3 separate regions of the Homo sapiens genome follow, and regions 1 and 3 are each linked to region 2. The links are contacts of gene promoters, found by promoter capture Hi-C in blood cells and fetal thymus (Javierre and others, 2016). All regions are on one chromosome and are shown on one strand. Each heading gives the region's core, a stretch centred on a gene start or on the middle of the fragment in contact. The rest is flanking DNA. Distances are from core to core; before and after follow the strand shown. Region 1 has its middle 23 kb from the start of LINC01690. Region 2 holds the start of IFNAR1 (interferon alpha and beta receptor subunit 1). Region 3 has its middle 19 kb from the start of EPCIP.

The links. Contacts are between HindIII fragments. The CHiCAGO score rates a contact against its expected background, and 5 or more counts as called.
Region 1: a contact is called between a fragment that was not itself captured here and the fragment with the promoter of IFNAR1 in region 2, in 1 of 17 cell types (non-activated CD4 T cells). The highest score is 5.2, in non-activated CD4 T cells.
Region 3: a fragment that was not itself captured here is called in contact with the fragment with the promoter of IFNAR1 in region 2 in 1 of 17 cell types (total CD4 T cells); the score reaches 6.0 in total CD4 T cells.

What each region holds. Positions count from the first base shown.
Region 1 is chr21:32,934,051-32,937,870 of GRCh38, forward strand. No RefSeq gene overlaps it. Among named protein-coding and RNA genes, the nearest start is that of LINC01690, 23 kb to the right of the region's middle. The HindIII fragment of the contact is 897 bases long and covers 894-1,790 here.
Region 2 is chr21:33,323,381-33,327,042 of GRCh38, forward strand. IFNAR1 (interferon alpha and beta receptor subunit 1) reads left to right here and starts at 1,590. Exons shown (of 11, transcript NM_000629.3): 1 at 1,590-1,751. The coding sequence starts at 1,676. RefSeq lists promoters at 294-1,577, 931-1,601, enhancers at 614-1,516, 804-1,013, 1,234-1,283, 1,517-2,418 and cis regulatory regions at 1,022, 1,513-1,522, 1,579. The HindIII fragment of the contact is 6,325 bases long and covers 1-2,509 here.
Region 3 is chr21:32,830,824-32,834,353 of GRCh38, forward strand. No RefSeq gene overlaps it. Among named protein-coding and RNA genes, the nearest start is that of EPCIP, 19 kb to the left of the region's middle. The HindIII fragment of the contact is 376 bases long and covers 1,528-1,903 here.

The DNA.
Region 1 (3,820 bases), core at 92-2,591, 390 kb before region 2:
TAATTGTGCAATCTCAGCTCACCGCAACCTCTGCCTCCCGGGTTCAAGCGATTCCCCTGCCTCAGCCTCCCGAGTAGCTGGGATAACAGGCATGCGCCACCTTGCCTGGCTAATTTTTTATTTTTTATTTTTACTAGAGACAGGGTTTCTCCATGTTGCTCAGGCTGGTCTAGAACTCCCAACCTCAGGTGATCCGCCCGCCTCGGCCTCCCAAAGAGCTGGGATTATAGGAATGAGCCACCGCGCCCGGCCGGTATGTAGCTCTTGAGTATCACGGGCCCAGGTCTGATTTGTCTGATTCCAAAACTCTTATGTTTAACCCCCTCATTAACTGCCTGAAGAAGGGAGCCGGGGGACAGAATTCTAACACTCCCTGGGCAAGAGTGAACACCTAGGCTTTATGATGCTTTTAGTAAGGGGGCTGTTAGACCAATGTCTCCCACCGTACTGTTGTAACGTGGGCAGGCCTGTCTGGGGGCTTCCACAGCACGATGTTTGACTGGGGACTTGAAATGGATTTGTCACATAAATTGACTGACAAGTGGTTCTCAAACCTGTTTGCAAATTAAAATCTTGGGAGCAGCTAGAAAACAAGAGCCATCTTTTTGGGCCTAGCTAACAGCTGCTGGGAATGGACTCCTGAAATCTGCATTTTTGGTAGATTCTCTGGGTGAGTCTAATGCATAGTCAAGTTTGAGAACCAATTTAGGAGAGAAAGCATTCAAAGGATATAGTTTCCCAGTGAGGATAATTTTCATATGGGAAGGACCATTTATTTAAAAGAAATTCACAGGCAGCTCCTCAGTATTTCTGTCCCCCAGGTAACTGGCATGACCTATAGTATGCAGGGGGACATCAAGAACCCAAGGCAACCTCTGCTGATCTTTAACAGAAGCTTCCTGCAGCTTCGGGTGCCCCCCATTCCATAGATGGATCCACCACAGCCCCAGTAACTGATCCATGTCTCCAACCAGCCAGGCAGCAGACAGGTCTTCCTTAAAGGGTCTCATGCTGCAGTTTAATGCTGTCCTCAGTTGAAGAACTTCAGTGGGGATGTAGGACATGTTTGCTACAACCCTCACGGTATGTTTTCAGGTGCATTAGCATAATTATTAGGTCATAGGCCCCAGCCCTCCAGGTGAGAGCGGCTTGGGGCCCAGCTTCTTCAGCCCAGTTGGCTGATTACATGCTTAGAATTCAGAAAACTGGCTTGTTTCTTAGGGCACTGACAAAATAAACCCCACAGTGTCAGGGTGAAGGAATTCTGTTCTGCTGAAGTCTTTTAGATTAGAAAGGGCAACATCAGGTTCCGATTATAGCTACAAGGGATATTTCCTCATTGGGAACTCTGTCCTATCTGCCTTATAGGTTTAGACCTCCCCATATTAGTTATCCATTGCTGTGTAATTAAACACCCTAAAACTTATGGGCTTAAAACAACAACAAACCGGCTGGGTGCAGTGGCTCACACCTGTAATCCCAGCACTTTGGGAGGCCGAGGCGGGTGGATCACAAGGTCGGGAGATCGAGACTATCCTGGCCAACATGGTGAAACCCCGTTTCTACTAAAAATACAAAAATTAGTCAAACGTGATGGCACATCCTTGTAATCCCAGCTACTCAGGAGGCTGAGGCAGGAGAGTCGTTTAAACCCAGAAAGCGGAGGTTGCAGTGAGCAGAGATTGGCCACTGCACTCCAGCCTGGTGACAGAGTGAGACTCTGTCTCAAAACAACAACAACAACAAACCTTATTTTATCTCCCAGTTCCATGGGTCACGGATTCAGGAGAAGCTTAGCTGGGTGGTTCTGACTCAGGGTCCCTCTTGAGGTTCATGTCGTGTGTCACCTGGGGATGTAGTCTTCTGAAAGCTAGATTGGGGCTGCAGGGTCTGCTTCCAAGGAGGCACACTCACACACCTGGCAAGTTGGTGCTAATTGTTGGTGGGAAACCTCAATTCCTCCCTCATGGGCTGTTCACAGCCTGCTTGAATGGCCTCACAACATGGCAGCTGGCTTCCCTCTTAGATGGTGATCCAAGAGGGAGCAAGGCAGAAGTCAGAAGTACTTTCTTTCTTTTTTTTTTTTTTTTGAGATGGAGTCTCGCTGTGTCGCCCAGGCTGGAATGCAGTGCCGCAATCTTGGCTCACTGCAACCTCTGCTAATCTGTTTTTATATTTTCAGTTAATCTAATGCTAATTTATTATGATACCACTGGCCCAATTAACAGAACACATTATTCCAATCTGTGGTGAAACCTCCAAGATATGTGTCAAACGTATATATATATATATGTTTAATGCTACCTTTATGGTTGTGAACAAAATCACTATTTATATTCAAATGTTATTTGCAGAGCCTTTACTATGTTCCAGAATGCTCTTTCGTATATTTTCCTATTAAATTTTCAAAATCACCCTATAGGCTGAGTATTTCAATGTTTGATTCATTTCCCTCCATATTCACCTCTAGAGAGGCTAGAGGACTCAATCAAAGTCACATAAGGGGAAGAACCAGTTAGTGACAGAGTCCATTTCCACCATTTGAAGCCGCATTTGTGACCCTTCACCAGCTGCTTCCTTGAGCTTGGTGAACACATGGCCTCGCTGTCTTCTCTGCGTCACTGGGACTATCTTCTGTGATCACTGAAGATGATGGTTGTGAATAATGGTGGCATCAGGAAAGTGCGGTGGCGGCCACTTACTGGGAGTTACTGGGAGCTTACTGTGTGCCAGGCATGGTGCTAAACCCCTGCTTGTGTTGTCCACGTGGCAGGAATTATCATCATTTCACAGATTAACAGACGTAGGTGCAAAAGGCTAAGCCATTTGCCCAGGTCACAAACAATTGTTGGGGCTGGAAATGAGGCCTCCTGTGTGACTCACATCCATGCATTTACCTGCCAGCTCCTCTCCCCAGGGCTCTGCTTCTGTAACTCTCAGTTGGCAGGTGGAGACCCTCCCTAAATGATTGATAGCCAGGTTTCCTTTGAAAAGCCTCCTGATATGGTTTGGCTGTGTCCCCACCCAAATCTCATCTTAAATTGTAGTTCTCATAATCCCCATCTGTCATGGGATGGACCAGGTGGGAGGTAATTGAATCATGGGGGCTGTAACCCTCATGCTGTTCTCGCGGTAGTGAGTTCTCCCGAGATCTGATGGTTTTATAAGGGGCGTTTCCCCCCTTGCTCGGCACTTCTCCTTGCTGCTGCCGTGTGAAGAAGGATGTGTTTGCTTCCCCTTCCGCCATGATTGTAAATTTCCTGAGGCCTCAGCCCCGTGGAACTGTGAGTCAATTAAACATCTTTCCTTTATAAATTACCCAGTCTCAGGTATTTCTTCATAGCAGCATGAGAACGGACTAATAGACTTTGCTTTCCACACTTGCTGCAGTTCCTCAAAACATCACGTAATTGTTTTTATCTGTGTCGACTTTGCAATGTTTCTCCTAAGCAGTTATATTGCGTTATCAGGTGATTGGGTGAAAACCCAGTTTGGGGGTCAAAATAATTTTATTTCTCTGCTTGATAAATGCTATGTTGTAGTATTAAGTAATAATGGTAGTGATTTGTAGGAATCAGGAGCATCAGCAGCAAAAGCGAAAAAAAATCATAGGAAAGTCTACTTCATTCATTAAAAATGCTTACAATGGAGAGAAGTTAATTTCACCATAACAATAGTGTATTCATTGTCTGGGGCTGCCATAACAACGTACCATACAGCCATCTCTTGGTTTCTGTGAAGGATTGGTTTCAGGACCCTCACAGGACACCAGAATCAGAGGAAGCTCAAGTCCCTGATATAAAATGGCACAGTATTTGCA
Region 2 (3,662 bases), core at 340-2,839:
CATATATATATGGCATATAGAGATGGCATATAGAGATGGCATATAGAGATGGCATATAGAGATGGCATATAGAGATGGCATATAGAGATGGCATATAGAGATGGCATATAGAGATGGAATATAGAGATGGAATATATATGGCATATAGAGATGGAATATATATGGCATATAGAGATGGAATATATATGGCATATAGAGATGGCATATAGAGATGGAATATAGAGATGGAATATAGAGATGGAATAGATATGGAATATAGAGATGGAATAGATATGGAATATAGAGATGGAATAGAGATGGAATATAGAGATGGAATATAGAGATGGGATATAGAGATGGGATATAGAGATGGGATATAGAGATGGGATATAGAGATGGGATATAGAGATGGGATATAGTGATGGAATATAGAGATGGGATATAGAGATGGAATAGATATGGAATATAGAGATGGAATAGATATGGAATATAGAGATGGAATAGATATGGAATATAGAGATGGAATATAGAGATGGGATATAGAGATGGGATATAGAGATGGAATATAGAGATGGGATATAGAGATGGAATATAGAGATGGGATATAGAGATGGAATATAGTGATGGGATATAGAGATGGAATATATAGATGGAATATAGAGATGGAATATATAGATGGAATACATATATATTCCATTGCATTGTTCTTTACAAACATTCATTTAATTATGTAATTGCTAATTAATTGCTTGGTTGTTATAACAACGAAGTATTTGATTCCTTATTTTATCTCATCATTTAAATTTTATTTCGCATATTTTCACAATGCACTGGATCTATTACTGAGGAATTTAATTAAATAATCATTCGAACCATGGGCTCGAATTGTTTACTGATAAAGCCCGACGACCAAAACAGCCTAGCGACTGCTGTTTGGAGCCCCTCGGCCCAGGGCCCGTGGCTGTTCTCTCCAAGGGACCATCTCGCCCCTCAGCCAAGTCGCCCGGAAAACGAGCGCTCGACCGCCTCTGCCCCGCTCTCGCTCTGCACACAGCAACGGTCTGGTCGCTCAGCCACTTCCTCCTTCCAGCCTCATCTGGTTCCCAGGCCGCTGGGGACTCCCAACGCCACTGTCCAAGACTCTAGGGTCAGCAAGCGCCCCGGGCGGAGAAGGGCGAGGACGAAGAGCGCCGGGCCGCGACCAGGAGCCCACCCGCGCCCTCCGACTGCAGACATGGGGAAGAGACGCGGGAACTCCAAAGTCGCTGGGTCTGCGCAGGTGTGTGCCGCGATCCTGTGAAGGTCAAGGCCTCCTGTGAGGGGGAGTCGTCCTGGAATGCGATGGTGAAGTGCTCCAGACCGGCCATAGGCCGGAAAGAGTGAGGAAGAAGAGAATGCAGGAGGCCTGCGATTTCTAAGGCGCGCGCGCACAGGGGTGCTGCAATTAGGATGGGGCAATGGGAGCTTGGAGAAGGGGTGCTAGCTAGGAGGAAAGGCGCGTGCGTGGAGGAACGGCGCGTGCGCGGAGGGGCGGTGTGTGTGTCAGAAGAGGCGGCGCGTGCGTAGAGGGGCGGTGAGAGCTAAGAGGGGCAGCGCGTGTGCAGAGGGGCGGTGTGACTTAGGACGGGGCGATGGCGGCTGAGAGGAGCTGCGCGTGCGCGAACATGTAACTGGTGGGATCTGCGGCGGCTCCCAGATGATGGTCGTCCTCCTGGGCGCGACGACCCTAGTGCTCGTCGCCGTGGCGCCATGGGTGTTGTCCGCAGCCGCAGGTGAGAGGCGGGGAGGAGAGTCTTGGCGCAGGGCGGGAGGTAGGGCACGCAGCTGGGCTACGGGGGCGGCGATGCTGTTGGGGGCGACAGACGCCCAGTCTGGGAAACCTTCGGTCCACTTTGCCGCGCCAAAGATTAAACCCGACCTGGGCTCGCAAATCAACCAGGAGAAAGTGGTGTTCTGGGTCCTCTCTTGCCGCTTGCCTGTGGCCGTGTACGGGTCCTCGGGAGCGCCCGGGTCCCACCCCCGTGAAATGGCGGTGCCAGAGCTTTGTGTCGAGTTTGATTCTTTCCGGGAAAGTACCGCGGCTCCGCTGGTCTGTTTGATAATAAACAAAACATTTCCCGAAATGCATTTCCTCAATCTGGTGAATAGGCGCCCAGTCCCACGGGGGAGTGAGCTAAGTGTGGCCAGGATTTCTCTGCCCTCAGGATTCATACAGGCCAATAAAAAATGACAGTCGGAGTGACTGAAGCATAATTGTCAGTTCTCGAGGTTTACTAAGCCTGCTTCAGGGCGCATCCGGGAAAAACGTGAGCCACAAACACGTCTGTGACTGGTTTTCCAGAGGTTTTCAGGAGGTGGGGCAGGAAGGCAGTAAGGCAAATAGTTCTGTGAGAATTTAGTTAGTGCCCAAGAAATCTGTATTTTAAGATACCATGAGTGTCTTGAAGAGAAAAAGAGAGTAAAGGGAGTCAGTTATGCAGATGCCTCTGGGTAGATGGAGTCTTGACTTTGTTTTGCACCTGAGAAGATAAGCTTGTAATTGACATGGTCAGTGTGGAAGGCCTGAACTAGTTTTTCAGATTAACTTTGGAATGCCATTTGTTGAGAGGAGAGGTCCATTCACATTGTTGGGGGGCTTAGAATTTTATTTTTGGTTTACTTAACTACCTACTTTTTTCCCAAAGAAATAATCATGTTCAAAACTCAATGAAATGTTATCTCAATGAGATTGTAATGTTGCTCAGTCTTTCAGAAGTCATAAAAATAGTCATACTTTTTAAACTAGTAAATGCAATTCTAGGACCCAAGACTAAGAAAACTGTCCAAAATATGGGAAGACATTTTTATTTATACTTTTTTTTTTTTTTTTTTGAGACAGCCTGTTGCCCAGGCTGGTGTGCAGAGGCGTGATCTCAGCTCACTGCAACCTCTGCCTCCCAGGTTCAGGCGATTCTCCTGCCTCAGCCTCTTGAGTAGCTGGAATTACAGGTGCACGCCACCACATCCGGCTATTTTTTGTATTTCTAGTAGAGATGGGGTTTTGCCATGTTGGCCAGGCTGGTCTCGAACTCCTGACCTCAAACAATCCACTTCAGCCTCCCAAAGTGCTGGGATTACAGGTGTGAGCCACCACGCCCGATCTATTTATGTTTTAGACTTTAGTTTTAGGAACTAGACTTAGGTTGTAGACCTGAAGTTACAGTTGGCATCCCCTTGTTTATGGGAGACCAGCAAAGAATTGACTTATGAATGATCTGTCAGGGTAGCCCTTCGCAGATGGCTGAGTCTTTTTATCCTTCCTTGGGGATTTGGCTGAAGCATAATGCTAGTAACAGCCATTCGTTTGGAAGAGGGTGTTGCAGTCACTTGGCCTCTGGGCTTAACTAACTTCCCTTTTGCGTAAGAAAGTTGGGAGAGGTCCTGAGATTTTTTTTTTTCTTTTACAAAAATAATAAAAGAAAAATACAAAGGCAGGGCGTCACCAGGCTAATTTGCTGAAATTCTTCATACTTACTTGGGATGCATGGGGGAATGGCAACTATTACAAGGTTGATAGAGAGTGAGAGGTAATTTTGTAGTGAGGAGGGGTACCCAAAGAGAATCAGGGCTAGCATCCCAGTGCAGGAGTCCAGGTGGTCTGTGAGCCTGCAAGTGAGTTCAAAATACTTTACCTGTTGGCTTAG
Region 3 (3,530 bases), core at 466-2,965, 490 kb before region 2:
GTTTCATATGGTTTAACCCAATACATTTAATCTATGATCTGTCTGGAATTGATTTTCATCTTTGGTGTGAGTCAGGGGTCAAGATTTTAAACAAATTTAATTGTCTGATTGTCAATTTCTTATGAATTGGATGACTGTATATATGTGGGTCTGTTTCTCAACTCACCATTCTGTTCTATTGTTTTTTTTCATTCTTGTACCGATACCTTACTGTCTTGGCCACTAGAGTTTTATGATAGGTCTTTTATAAATTTTAATAGCTCCGAAGTGTTCTTCAAGATTGCCTTAGCTACTCTTAGCCCACTATGTTTCCATTTAATTTTAGAATCTCTTGTTTTAGAATTATTGCTTTATATATATTTAAGTTGACATGTAATAATTGTACACATTTATGGGGCACATAGTGATGTTTTGGTACATATAAAGTATAGTGATCAGAATAACAAGAATTAGCATATCCATCATTTCAAACATTTATCATTCGTTTGTATGGGGGACATTTGATATCCTCCTTCTAGCTGTTTGAAACCACATATTATTTTTGACTACAGTCATCCTACAATGGTATAGAACACTGGAACTTATTCCTCCTTGACGCTATTTTATATGATGCCCTCTACTCTAGAATTGTTGTTCTAAACAACAGAATGTTAGTTACTCTCTTTTCTAGATAATCAGAATGTTAGTTACCCTCTTTATTGTTATTTTGTCTAAAATTGATGTGGCGATCCTAGATTTTTTTTTTGGTTCCTATTTGTCTGGTATATCTTTATTCATCACTTTATTCCCTTGTCCTCCATATGTTTTGGATTATCTTTTATAAATAGAATGTAACTGATTTTTTTTCTTTTTGAGACAGAGTCTCGCACTTTCCCCCAGGCTGGAGTGCAGTGGGACGATCTTGGCTCACTGCAACCTCCGCCTCCTGGGTTCAAGCGATTCTCCTGCCTCAGCCTCCTGAGTAGCCGGGATTACAGGAGCCCACCACCACCCCCAGCATTTTTTTTAGTATTTTTAGTAGAGACTGGGTTTCACCATGTTGGCCAGGCTGGTTTCGATCTCCTGACCGCATGATCTGCCTGCCTCAGCCTCCCAAAGTGCTGGGACCACAGGCGTGAGCCACCGCGCCCGGCCTTTTTTTTTTTTTTGATGGAGTTTCGCAACCTCTGCCTCCCAGGTTCAAGCTCTTCTCCTGCCTCAGGCTCCCAAGTAGCTGGGATTACAGGCATGTGGCACCACGCCTGGCTAATTTTGTATTTTTAGTAGAGACAGGGTTTCTCCATGTTGGTCAGGATGGTCTCGAACTCCTGACTTCAGGTGATCTACCTGCCTTGGCCTCCCAAAGTGCTGGGATTACAGGCATGAGCCACTGCGCCCAGCCAAATATAACTGATTTTTAAATCTAATCTGTTTTTACTGTGGGAATTTGAGCCATTAATATTATTATGGTATATTTAGGTTTGTATTTATTATCTTACTCCATCATGAATTTTTTTTATCCCAATCACCTTCTTCATTTTAATTCTAAGCTTTCTGAGGTTTGTTTTGTGGAGATGGGGTCTTGCTGTGTCACTCAGACTGGAATGCAGTGGTGCAATCATAGCTCAGCTGCGGCCTCTAACTCCTCGGCTCAGGTGATCCTCCCACCTCGGCCTCCTGACTAGCTGGGACTACAAGTTGCATGCCACCACACTCAGTTAATTTTTAAATATTTTGTACTGATGAGGGTCTTGCTACGTTCATCAGGCTGGTCTCAAACTCCTGGTGTCAAGGGATTCTCCCACCTCGGCCTCCCAAAGTGGTGGGATTACAGGCGTGAGCCACCTTGCATGGCCAACAGGATCTCTTGATAGTATGTTTCCAAAAAAAAAAAAGATCATCAAATCAGAATACCACACAAGGAAGCTTTGCTAACATGAGCTTCTGTTCTTCGCCTATGGAATCTGACTGAGTCCATGGTGCTGGATTTGGTGAAGCGTTGGACAAAGGAGTCATCCTAGGTACATAAACAAGAGGAAAGTACAAGTGATAATGAGGGAAACAGCAAGTTCATCATGAACTACAGATAACCTCTACTTTCATTTCTTTTCCTGTCTAGCTTAGGTGGGTTCTGGTAATTCCCCTGGGAATGAAGTGCCCAATTCTTATTTCTTTTTTTTCCTTTTTCTTTTCTTGTCTTTTTTTTTTGAGACAGAGTCTTTCTCTGTCGCCGAGGCTGGAGTGCAGTGGCGCGATCTCGGCTCACTGCAAGCTCCGCCTCCCGGGTTCACACCATTCTCCTGCCTCAGCTTTCCCAGTAGCTGGGACTACAGGCGCCCGCCAGCACGCCCGGCTAATTTTTTTGTATTTTTAGTAGAGACGGGGTTTCACTGTGTTAGGCAGGATGGTCTCGATCTCCTGACTTCGTGATCCGCCCGCCTCGGCCTCCCAAAGTGCTGGGATTACAGGCGTGAGCCACTGCGCCCGGCCGGCAGAGCAATTTTTACCTGTTCTCTGAAGATTTTCCAGCTCACTCCAGGCGACATGTTTTCTCCATTTCCTGACTGCCAGGGTGCTAGGGGGCATCATCACCAGGTTTTCAAGTATGTTCTGTGTTCTACGATGGTTTCCTGTTGTTAACCCTTTCATCTTACTATTTCTTTGAGAGTAGAAGCCATGCTTTAGTAAGTGCTTAATAACACCCAATAAATATTTGTCGACTAGTCCATTAGTTGAAGTCTAGCCCCCTAAGCCTCCGTTTTTCCCCAGGAAACTGTCAGTCCCCAACTCTGTTGCTTGCCTTCACAAGCTAATATCCACACTACAGAAAAGGACCAAAGAGGCAGGATTGGGCCCCAGATATGGATAAATCATTGTGGCCAGATATATCTCAGGACAAAAGTGGGAACTTGGTTTCTTGGTTTTGGAGAGCTCATTGGCTATAGAGTACTGCAAACATTTTTGTACTTAAGTGTCATTTTAAAGCTCAAGTTGGTTTCTCTACATGATATGGTCTTTTTCTCCCTACCTTGGGAAATTAGTGTTATTTTAAAAATGGTCTTAAAACATATTGATGCCCACTTGTTTTTCATAAGGAAATATGAAAAATGTTCAGACTTCACCAGTGGTTAAACAACGCAAATGGTGGCAACTTATATAATTAGCCAACCTGTTTTAAAACGAAATTTTGCTATGCTGGTGAGGTCTTGGCAAAGTGCTACATCCATATGTAGCCAGTTACAATGTAAGTTGGTTCAACCCTTTGAAAAGCAGGTAGCAATTCTGATCTAAGAACCATAAAAATGTTTATTTCTTTATTTTTGATCAAATAGTCCTAGGTTCTGGAATCTATCCTAGACAAAGCATCTAAAGGGAGTTGAATGCTCTGTGTTTGAAAATGTTCACTTTAATCTTTATTTTTAGCATGGAAAACTGGGAAACAAGCTACTAATAACTACCACTTGTCTGGCTCTGCAGTTCACAAGCAGCTGTCACATGTATCATTTCCTTTGATTTTACCGTGTCCCTGGGAAGTAGGTGCGGTTGTGACC